Linked DNA regions of Homo sapiens: all the other regions are linked to region 3. Evidence: promoter capture Hi-C in 16 types of primary human blood cells and fetal thymus (Javierre and others, 2016). All regions are on one chromosome and are shown on one strand. The core of a region is centred on a gene start or on the middle of the fragment in contact, and the rest is flanking DNA. Distances in the headings are between cores, read along the strand shown.

The links. The method cuts DNA at HindIII sites, captures the fragments that hold promoters and counts their contacts. A CHiCAGO score of 5 or more calls a contact.
Region 1: a fragment that was not itself captured here is called in contact with the fragment with the promoter of APOOL in region 3 in 5 of 17 cell types (naive CD8 T cells, non-activated CD4 T cells, total B cells and 2 more); the score reaches 12.3 in naive CD8 T cells.
Region 2: a contact is called between a fragment that was not itself captured here and the fragment with the promoter of APOOL in region 3, in 1 of 17 cell types (naive CD8 T cells). The highest score is 5.2, in naive CD8 T cells.
Region 4: a fragment that was not itself captured here is called in contact with the fragment with the promoter of APOOL in region 3 in 2 of 17 cell types (total B cells and non-activated CD4 T cells); the score reaches 9.2 in total B cells.

What each region holds. Positions count from the first base shown.
Region 1 is chrX:80,806,938-80,810,414 of GRCh38, reverse strand. BRWD3 (bromodomain and WD repeat domain containing 3) reads left to right here and starts at 538. Exons shown (of 41, transcript NM_153252.5): 1 at 538-974; 2 at 1,111-1,169; 3 at 1,373-1,402; 4 at 1,817-1,876. The coding sequence starts at 944. LOC124905202 (a long non-coding RNA gene) reads right to left here and starts at 1,607. Exons shown (of 2, transcript XR_007068278.1): 1 at 1,122-1,607. RefSeq lists an enhancer at 224-303. The HindIII fragment of the contact is 808 bases long and covers 1,058-1,865 here.
Region 2 is chrX:81,117,633-81,120,883 of GRCh38, reverse strand. It overlaps HMGN5 (high mobility group nucleosome binding domain 5), which reads left to right. Exons shown (of 7, transcript NM_030763.3): 3 at 1,067-1,096; 4 at 2,125-2,154; 5 at 2,399-2,452. Among named protein-coding and RNA genes, the nearest start is that of HMGN5, 83 kb to the left of the region's middle. The HindIII fragment of the contact is 165 bases long and covers 1,752-1,916 here.
Region 3 is chrX:85,002,619-85,005,841 of GRCh38, reverse strand. It overlaps APOOL (apolipoprotein O like), which reads right to left and starts at 1,965. Exons shown (of 9, transcript NM_198450.6): 1 at 1,915-1,965. The coding sequence starts at 1,929. The HindIII fragment of the contact is 4,827 bases long and covers 1-3,223 here.
Region 4 is chrX:81,203,887-81,206,935 of GRCh38, reverse strand. The region is part of intron 1 of SH3BGRL (SH3 domain binding glutamate rich protein like); the gene reads right to left. Among named protein-coding and RNA genes, the nearest start is that of SH3BGRL, 3.3 kb to the right of the region's middle. The HindIII fragment of the contact is 1,675 bases long and covers 732-2,406 here.

The sequences.
Region 1 (3,477 bases), core at 212-2,711, 4.2 Mb after region 3:
TTTGGACTGGTAAGTACAACATTTTCATTTGGTAAATAATAATAATTTTAAACAGAAACAAGTCACGACCAAATAGCGACTCATCCTCCCCCAGGCATAAAACCCTTTAGCCAGCTAGCCGCCTTTCCACGGGGTAGAGTATAAACAGCAAACAAAACCGCTTTGGTACCGGGAGGAAAAAGGGGAAAGGAGTCGAGTCAAAACACCGTCTCTTAAGTTCCTCAAGATCAACCCAGGGGGAAGGGTCCTCCACCGGAAAGGGCCGGATTGCCTTCACAGGAAGGGAAAGTCACTCCGGAGCTCGCAGACGCGAATGCCACCACAGAGTTCCAAGGCGGCTGCCAGAGCGTCGGCCGTCAGTTAGCACCTCCCCCTCCTTCCCAGAGCTGTAGCTAAGCAACCATCGGGCTCCGGGAGAGTCTAGGCTCAGCTGCTGTATTAGTGCCTCTAGCGGGGAACTATGAGCGCTGCAAAACCCTATCACCATTTTTACCCTCCCCTCTCTCCACCCCCTTTGCCCCCGCCCACCTCTTCGCCACTTCGGCTCCTCCCTCTTCTCGCTCCGTCTATCTCTCTCTCTCTCTCTCTCTCCGCCCCCCCACCCCCCGCGTCTCTCTCTCTCTCTCTCTCTCTCTCTCTCTCTCTCTCTCTCTCTTTTTCCTCTCTCTCTCTCTCTCTTCTCTCTCTCTCTCTCACTCACTCACTCTCTCTCTCCCTCTCCCTCTCCTCTCCTTCCTCCTCCGCCTCCTCAGCTCTTGGGCTAGAATATCTATGGGTCGAAACGTGATGCGATGAATTCGAGAGAGAGCGAAACTAGGACGAGGAGTGCGGCGGAAGCGGCGGGACTCCCGGGCATGGGGGCTTCACCACAATAGAGGCAGCGCCCCCACCCGCCCCCGCCAGCCCCTCCGGAGCGAAGCCCCCAAACCCCCTCGGGAAAAGGATGGCGGCAGCACCTACCCAGATCGAAGCCGGTGGGTAGCTGTGTCGGGGGGTGGGGGGGTGCTAAGGGAATGGGGGCTTAGCGCGAAGGCTGTCAGTTTCTTTTGAAAAAGCTTCTATTTCTCTTCTCTACCTCCCTCTGAACCTCTTTTCCCCCCTCTTCCCCAGAGCTGTATTACCTGATCGCTAGGTTCTTGCAGTCTGGACCCTGCAACAAATCCGCTCAGGTAAGGGGAAGAAAGAGATCTGGGAGTCGTGGTGAATGGTCCCAGTGGGGAAATCGAGGCAGCGGGACGAGCAGTTCCGTTGAGGGTGAGGGAAAGGCCGGCCTTGACTAGTCAAACGGTCAGCGGCTGGGCTTTAAGTGTGGAGGGAGGAATGGGTTGATGGCCCGAGCTGCTCCTCATATCTGTGTTTCCCTTTTGCTCAGGTGCTAGTGCAGGAGCTCGAGGAGCATCAGGTACGGAGCCCCTTCGGGAAGGGTGGGGAGGGTTGAGGTGAGACTGGAGGAAGGGGAGGGCAAGTCAGGGGCGGAAGACGGGCTGGGATAGAGGCTTCGATCTGGGTACCCGTAGCTGTTGTCACCGGGGTGAATTGGCTTCTTCCCTCAAAAGGGGCAGACAACGCTGGGGTCTTAACTCGTCCCCGCTTTATGCTTGTGGGAGGCAGTTTTTCAGGATTTCCTTCTCGACCCCCCTTCCCCCCCCCCCCCATATACTTGTCTAGCTCTGAGCCAATAGCTATCAGGCCGAGAGAAATAAAGACGGTAAAGTGTTGAGGACTGGGACACAGGTTGGGTCCAGTTGATGGGGAGCGGAGGCTTTTCCTTCATCATTTGCCTCCGCTTCCCCCTTTCTTTTCGTCCGGCCCCCAGCTGATTCCGCGCCGCTTAGATTGGGAGGGGAAAGAGCACCGAAGAAGCTTCGAGGATCTGGTGAGTAAAGTTTTCATTTCAACTTAACCTAACTCTTTCACCACTCCCTCCCCACCTTGTACCCCCAACCCGCCCCCCACCTCTCAGCCGACGAGGTTCTAGAGCTCGGTGCAGAGCCAAAGAACGACTGCCCCTTCCCCCATCCCTGCTAGTCGGAAAAAGGGTACCTTGCCCTCCCCTTGGCCCTGCTTGTTTCCACCCGAAAACTTTGAAGAATGTGAGTTGATTATCAGAGGTGCCGTGTTGTGGATTATGAATATGTTACAAACATTGGGGAAGGCCCATTGTAGGCGGAAAAGGGAGAGAAACCAAGGGGTTATCTTGGGGCACGTACTAAGGTCTGACGCTGGCCAATGACAGCGTTGGTAACAGCCCGGAGTTCCGGATTAGTGGAAGAAAACTGGTTTCTGGTTGGTCCTGGCCTGAAATACGGGAACTAAGGCCAGGCTTGGTCTTTTTTGGGGGGGGCGGGGGGGCAGGGGGGAGGCGTGGGAGGAAGGGGCTCTGGAGGGGAATTGACGGACCAGGGATTAGGAAAAACGACATAATTAAAAATAATAAGGAGCGTCAAGCCAATTTCAAATTTTGCCGGTTAGGTAATGGTCTACTGAGTAAAAGCATAATCGTTACGTATCTCCGATTTTATAAGCTCATTCAATTATCAGTTAAGTCGCATTTGCATAGACCCGTTTTCACTAAATAGAAACTGAGTTATCACTTTTTGAGAATTGGTGAAACACGATTTTGGGTTTACAAGGAGACAACAATGGACATATTTAAAAATGGAATATACTTTAGTGAAGGACCAAAGGCATTGGTCTATGTTGTTTCTCCTGCAAATATAATTCATAGTATAAATGTACCTTGTGTTCAGCATTGACACACAAAAACAGGTGATCCTTTTTATTTTGCGGGGGAGGTTCCCTTGTGTTAGCTGCTGCCACAGTGCATTGGAGGGTAGTGAAAGGAGAAAGGAATGATGTTACTAAAATCTAAATTCAGCTATCTTTCCTTCAAGTAAGATCCAAGTGGAGGAAAATCGGACAAAGTTAAAGAAAGTTGGCGGTGTATGATAGACTCTAAATATAAATGATTTAAAATTTGCTTGCAATAAGACTATATTTAAATTGCTTCAATGTTCATTTTGTTATTTTTGTTTGTGTTATCTTACAACAGTGAGGCCACATTATTATTATCAAGTCTACCGACTGTATAGTTTTCTTATATTTTGCAAATCACAGAAAATGGTATAATTGTGATAAGGGTAAACTCGACCATCTGTATTATTAATAGTAACAATTTCTCAGATGGAGAAAAATTAGTTTTGAAAAACTTCATGTACTGCCAGGTTAATTTGTAGTCAGTCTTTCTGTTGGACTTAAGTCTTTCCCTCCCCCTAAAAGAGGCAAAAACAACAGTGCCTACTAATATGTTTTAACACTTAATGACTGATACAGGTTTTTATATATAGTTTTAATACTGAGGTGTATTGAAAATGTTTTCCTTTACATTTGTCCTTCTCACAGCCTATATGTGTTATTTTAAGCAAGTGGCAAAGGAGATTAAAAGGAAAAAGCTTTTTTGAAACTAACTTGACAGTG
Region 2 (3,251 bases), core at 585-3,084, 3.9 Mb after region 3:
GGAGACAGCGTCGGATAAACTTGCTGATGTTGGGGTAGCATGGATTTGTTCACTTTAGTAGTGCAGAATTGATCTGAGCCTTTCGAGCTCCACAGGTCTTCTGCAAACCCTCACTTCACAATTCCTGGCTCCTCGCAGACAGGAAACAAGTTCACGCTCGGCGTTTTTTTCTTAGTCCCCTAGAAGTGAAATCGAACGCTGTTTCATTGCTTGGTAAAACCGTATAACACTATGCTAAGACATTATGATTGTTTTTGGATTATTCCTATAAACAACTCCGCCTTCCTTATTCCTAAAACATAGGAATAATACTGAAATTCCCCCGTGCTCTGTGGCTGTCTGAATCGTGCAATAGCTTGATAATTCTCAGGCTAAAGGGCTGCTCAGATATGGAAAACAACTGTTTCTAATCACCATCCCCCCTTCCTGAGATTCCCGCCACTGTGCTTTTCTATACTTGTGCAGTAGGTCTTGCTGTTTTCCAGAGCTGACAGCAACCTTAAAGCAGGTAGTGGCGGGAAGTTTTAAAATCGGCGGCCAGTTTCTTAGAATAAAGCATTGACTTTGTAACAAAGAGGTCTCCCCAAGAAAACACTGTGGGGGCTGTAATTCTTGCATGCAAAACTTGGAGAAAATAGTCCAGAATCAGTGGAGAGGATAAGATAGGTACAATTGCATGGCAAACATAAGGCAAGAAAGCGAAATTGCATGAAGCTCCGCCTTCATTTGACCCACCCCCACATTTTTGGCTTTTACATTATCTAAAGCAGGTGGATTTCAAAATTACAAAGGTTTGCTTTTAGGAGATGCAATTTACACAAAAGGATGAAATTAACTATCAATTGTGTAAAAGTATGTCTTGTGCATGCACTTGCATCTTGGTGCACATTAGTAAAACAGCAGTATGTAGCATGGTTCCTAAGAAACAACACGTGTCTACTTGAGCAGGAACCCAGGAGAAAGTAATAAGCAATTATATTGAAATTTGTAATCCGCAGGCAGTATTTTCTGATTTATGTGTTTATATCAATGACCTTATTTCTGTGTGGTTTTCTCCTCTGTGTAGGCTGCAGGTCAAGGTGATATGAGGCAGGAGGTGAGTTTCTTTAGTCTTAGCATCTATTAGGAAAAACCACTCGTTTTATAAACTTGACATAAGCAGCTAAAAAATAGATGCTGGTTGGTATATTTGTACAATATGAGTTCCAATATGGTATACCAGTGGGATCTCTCAAAAATATATATCCGAATTTCAGAAGAGAGGACTTTTTAAAATTGCCATTCAGAATAAAAGAAAAGGCTTTTTCACTTTTTTTTATAGAAATGATGGTACGGAAATATTCTTGACAATAGAGATGTGCTAATATTTTATTTGGGTGTTTTGTGGGTTAGACTATGATTTGGTGTGTGTACTTTACAGGCTTACATGTTGCTTACTTTAGAAAGTTGAGGCTCTAAATGACTGTTCACATATGTGAAACATTTCTTAAAGTACTATATAGTTTTTGTTATTGCATTAAATATATATTGTTCTAACTCCTAGAGTATGCCATCTTCTATATGTCCTACAAAGCGAGAATCATTGTTGTGCGACAATTATATTAAAGAAACCTCTCAGTTTACCTTTATGGCCTTGTTAATCTAATATTTTGGTCAATGCATATTATTAATTTTAATCTAATTAATGCACAATAAAAATATACTGAGTGTGAAAAAAATGTATATATAGTAAGTATTAAAAACTGCAAGCTTCTTCGAATTTAAGACCTTATTGTGCTTGTTCAGATGTGGAGAGAACTTCTTCCTTTTAAGCAAAATAATTGCTTTGTCATTTGGCAAGAAAAGGCTATATTTTCATTTCTAAATGTGCTCCTTGTTACTAGCTACTGTGTTAATTTAGCCTAGCTGCTTAAGCTTAATTTGGGACTTTTTCCTTAGTATGTAAAGTGTTCAGAGGACGGAAAAATCAAAACTTATATTTCTCTTGTATTTTCTAACCAAATTCACAATTACTTAATGACAATATTTATGTATTGTTACACCAAATATTTTGACCTCAATAAAAATAATTCTAGCTTTTTGTATCCATAATTCTCTTAACAGATTTTTGTTTTTAACTTATAGCCAAAGAGAAGATCTGCCAGGTTGTCTGCTGTAAGTAATCTTTTCAAAAAGCAGCCCATGTATTGTGAAACGTCATTTTAAAATTTAGGGAATCCTAAAATATTCAATACACGATTTATTTTTGAAGTTTTAAGAAAAACTTTCACACCAAGGAAATGTATTTTTTTTCCTAATACTCATTTATTTTAATTCAGAGGTTGGATTTCATTTTTAGCGTTCTTTCTTCAAATATGATTTTTTTCCTTTTCTTTTCTTTTCCCACAACTTGAAGCAGATGCTTGTGCCAGTTACACCAGAGGTGAAGCCTAAAAGAACATCAAGTTCAAGGGTAAATATTCAACGTAGAATATTGAAATAAATTTGCTTTTTTTTTCAAAAATAATTTTTGAAATGGCATACAGCTGATCATTTTACTTTGCTTATATTTTGTTCAGTTAGTAATATATTATATTCTATCATATGATACATGTAAACCCCTTGGGTGGGGATTATTTGTTCTGTTTTGTGATTGTCCACAGTGTTTTGACATTTTCACTGGGTAGAGACAAAACAATTTCAGTTGGATAGGCCCATTAAATGTACATGCCTTTGCTATCATATAGTGACAATACTGTTTCCCTGGGAAAACAAAAGGTGAAAACAGTAGTAACCCCAAAGTTGTGCTTTGTAATAAAAGTAGTAACTAACATTTGATAATATTTTACAGTTGGCAAAGTATATAAGATTATATATAATTATATATATAATATATGTAAGATGTATTTGCATATGTTAATTTTAAATGGACACAATTGATTTTGTATGGACTTATATACTCTGGTGTTATGGCTAAAGGCATGTAGAAATAGATATAATCTCAATATTTAGTTTACTGCTAATTGCTTAATACATAAGAATATTGATTGAATTCCTGAAATCATAAAAGGTTAAAGCTATGAGAAACATTAGAGAGCATCTAATCCTATCACTTTGTAGTTGAAGAAAGTATAAACTGTCATTATGTTCATAAATGAAATCCTTTATTAAAAAATATTGCTAAACTTAGGGAAATTGAAGTTTTAGTAATAATTGATATATTTAATGGTGACAAAAGAAAAGAAGGTTTTTTTTTCTGCATTTTACTTTTC
Region 3 (3,223 bases), core at 716-3,215:
ACTCTCTTCAAACCAAGTGTGAGCTCTCTCCTTTTGAGCGTCAGAGCACTTTGTACTTCTCTTCAGGTAAGAAACTCCCCTTACTCTGAATCACAGTCATTTGTGTTATATGTGTTATATCTCCACCACTTAATCTCTTCTGTCCTCATTGCCTGGCACTTTATTCATGTAGAACATGTTGACTACCTAATATACATCAGACCTGTGCTAGGTACTACGGATACAAAGGTTAATATAATTACTGTCTTCAAGGAGCTTATAGTTTAGGTAGCTAGAACAGACAAGTAAGTAGTCTATATGTGCAGTGGAATAAATGCTTGGTTAAGAGTGTGCCCAGAGTCCTCTGGGAGCACAAACAAGAGTTATTAAAATAGACTGGCGAGGACCGGGCGTGGTGGCTCACGCCTGTAATCCCAGTACTTTGGGAGGCCCGGGGGGGGGGGGGGGTGAATCACGAGGTCAGGAGTTCGAGACCAGCGTGACCAACATGGTGAAACCCCGTCTCTACTAAAAAATAAAAATAAAAAAATTTAGCCGGGCATGGTTGGCATGCGCCTGTAGTCCCAGCTACTCAGGAGACTGAGGCAGGAGAATCGCCTGAACCCGGGAGGTGGAGGTTGCAGTGAGCTGAGATCGCGCCACTGCACTCAAGCCTGGGAGACAGAGAGAGACTCCGTCTCAAAAATAAAAAATAAAATAAAATAAAATAGACTGGGGAGATCAAGGACACTATTAAACAAGGCATTTTTGTGTTTTGCATATGGGGAGGCTGTACACAAATAGCTGCTGAATGAATGAATGAACTATAAATACAACTAGATAAGCATGGGAAAAGGCACTTTAGGCCCAGAGAAAGAGCACGTAAAAAAGCATGGCGGGGTCAAGCAAGCAGCTCAGTATCGACAGGAGGAGGGTTCCTGAGTGACAAGAGATGAGGCTGGAAAGTCTAGGTAAAATCAGATGTTCTAGACATAAGAGTATGGCCTGACCCCAGAGGGGAGATGATGACATGCCCATAAAATTTTTTAAATGCGGGGGGAGGCAAAAATCAAATTTGCATTTTGGTAGATGTACTCTGGCAACACAGAGGAAAACAGATTACATGAGAGCCAGGCTTGAGGTGGCAAGTTCAGGTAGGAGGTTGTTCAAATAACTCAGATGAAGTATGAGAACCAGAACTGTAGACGCTGCCGACTTAAAACTTCAGCGGAACTGAATTATTCATACTGTATCTCCTGCAAGCCTAACAGAATATTTTACAATTAAAACCCGCTACGTAAATATCTGTAGACTACCATTATTAAACACTACTTAGGGAACTGCAGCAAGCTGCCAGCTGAGTCACTCACTGTACACGGACTCCCAAGTAAAGGCACCTTTCCCAAGCGTAAAACTCGAAAGGAACAGGTTATTCGAGCACAGAAAGCAACAACACTATGTGTAAACCAGCGCACTGCTGAAAGACTATGGGACCTCTCTATCCTGGTCAGTTTCACCCCAAATGTTTCAACAAAGTCCTTCCATAGGGTCATGTGGCCTTGCCCTGTGCGCCGAGACAAATGCCAAGTTTATATATATATTTTTCTCTTTATTGCAGCTGAAGACCGAAACGTCTACTGCGGCTCGTCGCCTGGCCAGCCATTTTCACCCAGCCGTTTCCCAGTTTTGTACTGTGCCACTGTGTAAATCGACAACCACAGGGGATTGAGGGAGCAGCGTCCCAGGCTGATAAAACCCTAATGGGGAAAGGCAGGTGTCTTGAGGCTTCAAACGATAAAGATTGCAATTATCTCAAAACCCACCTCCACCCTGCCCCTTGTTTCAGGGCTCCTTCAGAAGTTAGTAGGATCCCTTTTACAGTTACCGGGATGCTATCGGCACCCACAGAAATTAAGCAAGTTGGTTTTCGCTTACCCTGATGGCCGCCATGTCTACAACCCTTTCGGCCAAGGTTTTCAGACGGAGAGCAGAGAGGGACAAATCAGTTCGACTAGGCTTCCCTTAGGACAGCCCCACCCCGTTACGCCCCTTGCCTGCCAGTTACCGCCTTTTCTCCGCCCTCCTCCAGCCGCCTTGGCAACTGCTGCGGTTTCGGTCAGCTGTCTTCTGGAGAAACTGTTCACCCCTGTGGTTGACCCTCCCGGTCCCAGATAAAGCCTTCCAGAACATTATCAATAGTCCAGTTGGGAGTTATTTTCCTGGGTGCAGAACTTTTAATTATTTTGTTTCGGGCATATGTGATATGTCCAGATAAGGACTTAATACCCAAATGTAGCTGCTTTAATAATTAATTATATAGTAAGAAAAACAACTTATTACCTCTGCGAAACATGGGTAAGTTCATTCATTCTAAAACTAAGTCACGGAGAGCATACTCTGTGCCGGGCAGTTGTTCGGGGCATAGACAAAACATAGTGGCTTCCTCACAGAGCTTATGATTACAGGAGTAAAAGAGACAAATGAGGCCGGCGCGGTGGCTCACGCCTGTAATCCTGGCACTTTGGGAGGCCGAGACGGGCGGATCACGAGGTCAGGAGATCGAGACCATCCTGGCTAACACGGTGAAACTCCGTCTCTACTAAAAGTACAAAAAAAATTAGCCGGGCGTAGTAGCGGGCGCCTGCAGTCCCAGCTACTCGGGAGGCTGAGGCAGGAGACTGGCGTGAACCCGGGAGGCGGAGCTTGCAGTAAGCGGAGATCGCGCCACTGCACTTCAGCCTGGGCGACAGAGCGAGACTCCGTCTCAAAAAAATAAATAAATAAATAAAAATAAATAATAAATTTTAAAAAAGAGACAAATGCTATGAAGGAAAATAAAACAGTATGGGAATGAGGTGGGAGTTTACTGGTTTATATCAATGAGAGAAAGACTCTGATAAGCTCATTTGATAAAAGTCCTGGAGGAATTTAGAGAAGAGGGTTGCATACGGAAGGAACAGCAATGAAAAAGTCCAGTGAGGCTGGAGCAATAATTTCAGAGGTAGCGAAGTAACACAGTGTAGGGGCTTTCGTGCCGCCAAAATAAATTTGGATTTTATGCTGAATAAGATGGGAAATCATTGGAGGATTTTGAGCAAAGGTGTGATGTGATCTAATTTACATTTTTAAAGGATGATTTTGGTGCTATCAGGAGAATATACTAAGGGTATATTGCAATATTCACAACAGGAGCAAGGTCTGCTGTAGGCCTCCCTGAAGGATTCTGAGGAAAGAAGATGCTCAT
Region 4 (3,049 bases), core at 320-2,819, 3.8 Mb after region 3:
TTCTGAACAGGCAGAAATCACTTCATATAGACAGACTACTTGGAAGCTGCATTCTTGTTAAATGGTTCCCATCAAACTAAACAGTATTAAGGCCTGAATTTTATACCTTGACCTATACCAGACCAGTTTAGGCTTTCCAACTGTGTAGGTCTTCTCTATCTTCTTGGCCTTGGGTGAACAGTCACTTACCCTACTTACAGACATTCCCTTTTAGACACAATATCCCTCCTACACACTAGCTGCCCATTTCTCTATTCCCCTATATGCACATGCCCAGGCAACTCTTCTTCCACTTACAGGACTTACTTCCTCCCCTACCTCTTACTCGTGTTCAAATTTATTTCCTCATGCCTACTAGTTGCCATAAATCACTGGGAGGATGCATTTCTTGGTGGTTAAGTACATATTCTTTGGATTCAAACATCTTGCTTGGATTCAAGCTCTATGGCTTACCAACTGTGTAACCTTGAGAAAGTTATTTACTCTTTGAACCTGTATACTGTATTTCCTTCTCTGAAAAACAGAGATAATCATAGTGCTTAATTCAAAGGATTATTTTTAAAAATGAGATAGTATCTGACATACTTAGGGGCTTCTACTGACTATCATTATTATGGTTACCATCAAGAAGTCCATTACATTGGTCTGGGCAAAGATTTTTTGGGTAAAACCTCAAAAACAGGCAATGAAAGTAAAAATAGACAAATGGAACTATATTAAGCTAAAAAGCTTCTGCACAGCAAAGGAAACAATCAATAGAGTAAGGAGAAACCTAAAAATGGGAGGAAATATTTTCCAACTATCCATCTGACAAGAGATTAATATGTGGAATATATAAGGAAGTCAGTAGCAAAAAAGAAACCCACAAAAAAACAAATAATCCAATTTTTTTAAATGGCAAATGATTTCAATAAACATTTCACAAAAGAAGACATACAAATCGCAAACAGGTATAAGAAAAAATGTTCCGCATCACTAACCATCAGGAAAATGCAAATCAAAACTATAATGAGATAACATCTCACTCCAATTAAAATGGCTATTACCAAAAAGATAACAAATGCTGGTAAGGGCACTGAGAAAGCGGAATACTAGTACACTTTTGCTGGGAATGTAAATTAGTACAGCTGCTATGGAAAACAGCACAGAGATTTCTCAAAAAAACAAAAATAGAACTACCACATGATCTAGAGCTGCCATGGAAAACAGCATAGAGGTTCCTCAAAAAACAAAAATAGAACTATCACATGATTTAGCAATCTCACTTTTGGGTATATATCCAAAAGAAAGGATATCAGTATATCAAAGAAATATCTGCACTCCCATGTTTATTAAAGAACTATTCAAAATAACTATGATATGTGGCTAAGTGTCCATCAACGGTGAATGAATAAAGGAAATGTGATATATATATATATATATATATATATACACACACACACACACACATATATATACACACACTTATATATACACACATATATATACACACACAAAATAAAATATTATTCAGCCATAAAAATGATATTCTGTTATTTGTGACAACATGGATGAGCCTGGAGGACATTATTTTAAGTGAACTAAGACATAACACAGAAAGACAAAAGACATACCACACGTTCTCACCCATGTGGGAGCTAAAAAAGTCGATCCCATGAAGATATTGGGTAGAATGGATGGTGGTTACCAGAGGCTGAGAAGGGTAGGGGGAAAGAAGGATTAAGAGAGGTTGGTTAATGAGTACACAAATACAGTTAGATAGAAGGAATAAGATCCACTGTTCAATTGCACAATAGGGTGGCTATAGTTACCAATATAATTTACTGTATAGCTAGAAAAAACAGCTAGAATGTTTGGAATGTTCCCACCACAAATAAATGATAAATGTTTGCGGTAACGGATATCCTAATTACCCTAATTTGATCATCACACATTGTGTGCATGTATCAAAAGATCATATGTCCCCCATAAATATGCACAATTATGATATATCAATAAAAATAAAAAATGAAATCCATTGCAAAGACCAACATACTTGTTTTCATTTCTAAACTTTCAAGAAGCAAGTGCTACTCTTCACTATTAGGCCACTTTTTTTGTTTTGTTTTGTTTTTGAGAGAAAGTCTCGCTCTGTTGCCCAGGCTGGATTGCAGTGGTGCGATCTCTGCTCACCGCAAGCTCCGCCTCTTGGGTTCACGCCATTCTCCTGCCTCAGCCTCCCGAGTGGCTGGGACTGCAGGCGCCCGCCACCATAATAAGTTAACATTGTCTTGCCAATTATCACAGATCCAGATCCCCCACTCTGCCCAGTATAACCAGTATAACATCTGTTGTTTTTTTTTTTAATGACAACCAGTAGGAAGATTAAGAAACAGTCAGCTACCACCAATCCAAAGCAAAGAAGCTTTTAACTGTTCTTCAGACAACTAAACTTAGTCACTTATTGAAGTATCTCACTATGTGCAATTGTAGGACTCCATCAGGATATTTGCTCAAAACTTTCTAACTTATGTATTAAAACAAACAGGGCATCAATCTTAAAGGAAAACTTTAGTACAGCAAACTGAAAAGTGCCTTTCTGAAGTAAATAATCACCACTCCATTCATGTTACAAAGAAGTACTCACTTTACACTGTTTTGGTATTATTTAAAAGTGTTGTAATAGTATAATAAAGCAAGGATTTATTTTGGCATTATGAAGTAGAATTTTGATAACAGGTTCATTGAACTATAATTACTACAGTAGATAAATTTCTAATAAATTTCTAACTACTCATGACAAAAAATTGAAATAAAATACAAATACCATAAACATCTGCCATTTGCATGGTCTTCAACAATAAAGTCCAACAAAGATGGGAAGAATAGACACTGAAGACTACAGAGGAGGGAGGGAGGAAGGCAAAGGTTGTAAAATTACCTATTGGGTACTACGCCCACTACCAGGGTGAGAGGTTCAATGGTACCCCAAACCTTGCACAGTATACCCATGCATCAAATCTGCACATGTACCCTCTGAATCTAAAATAAAAGTTGAAATCTAAATAAA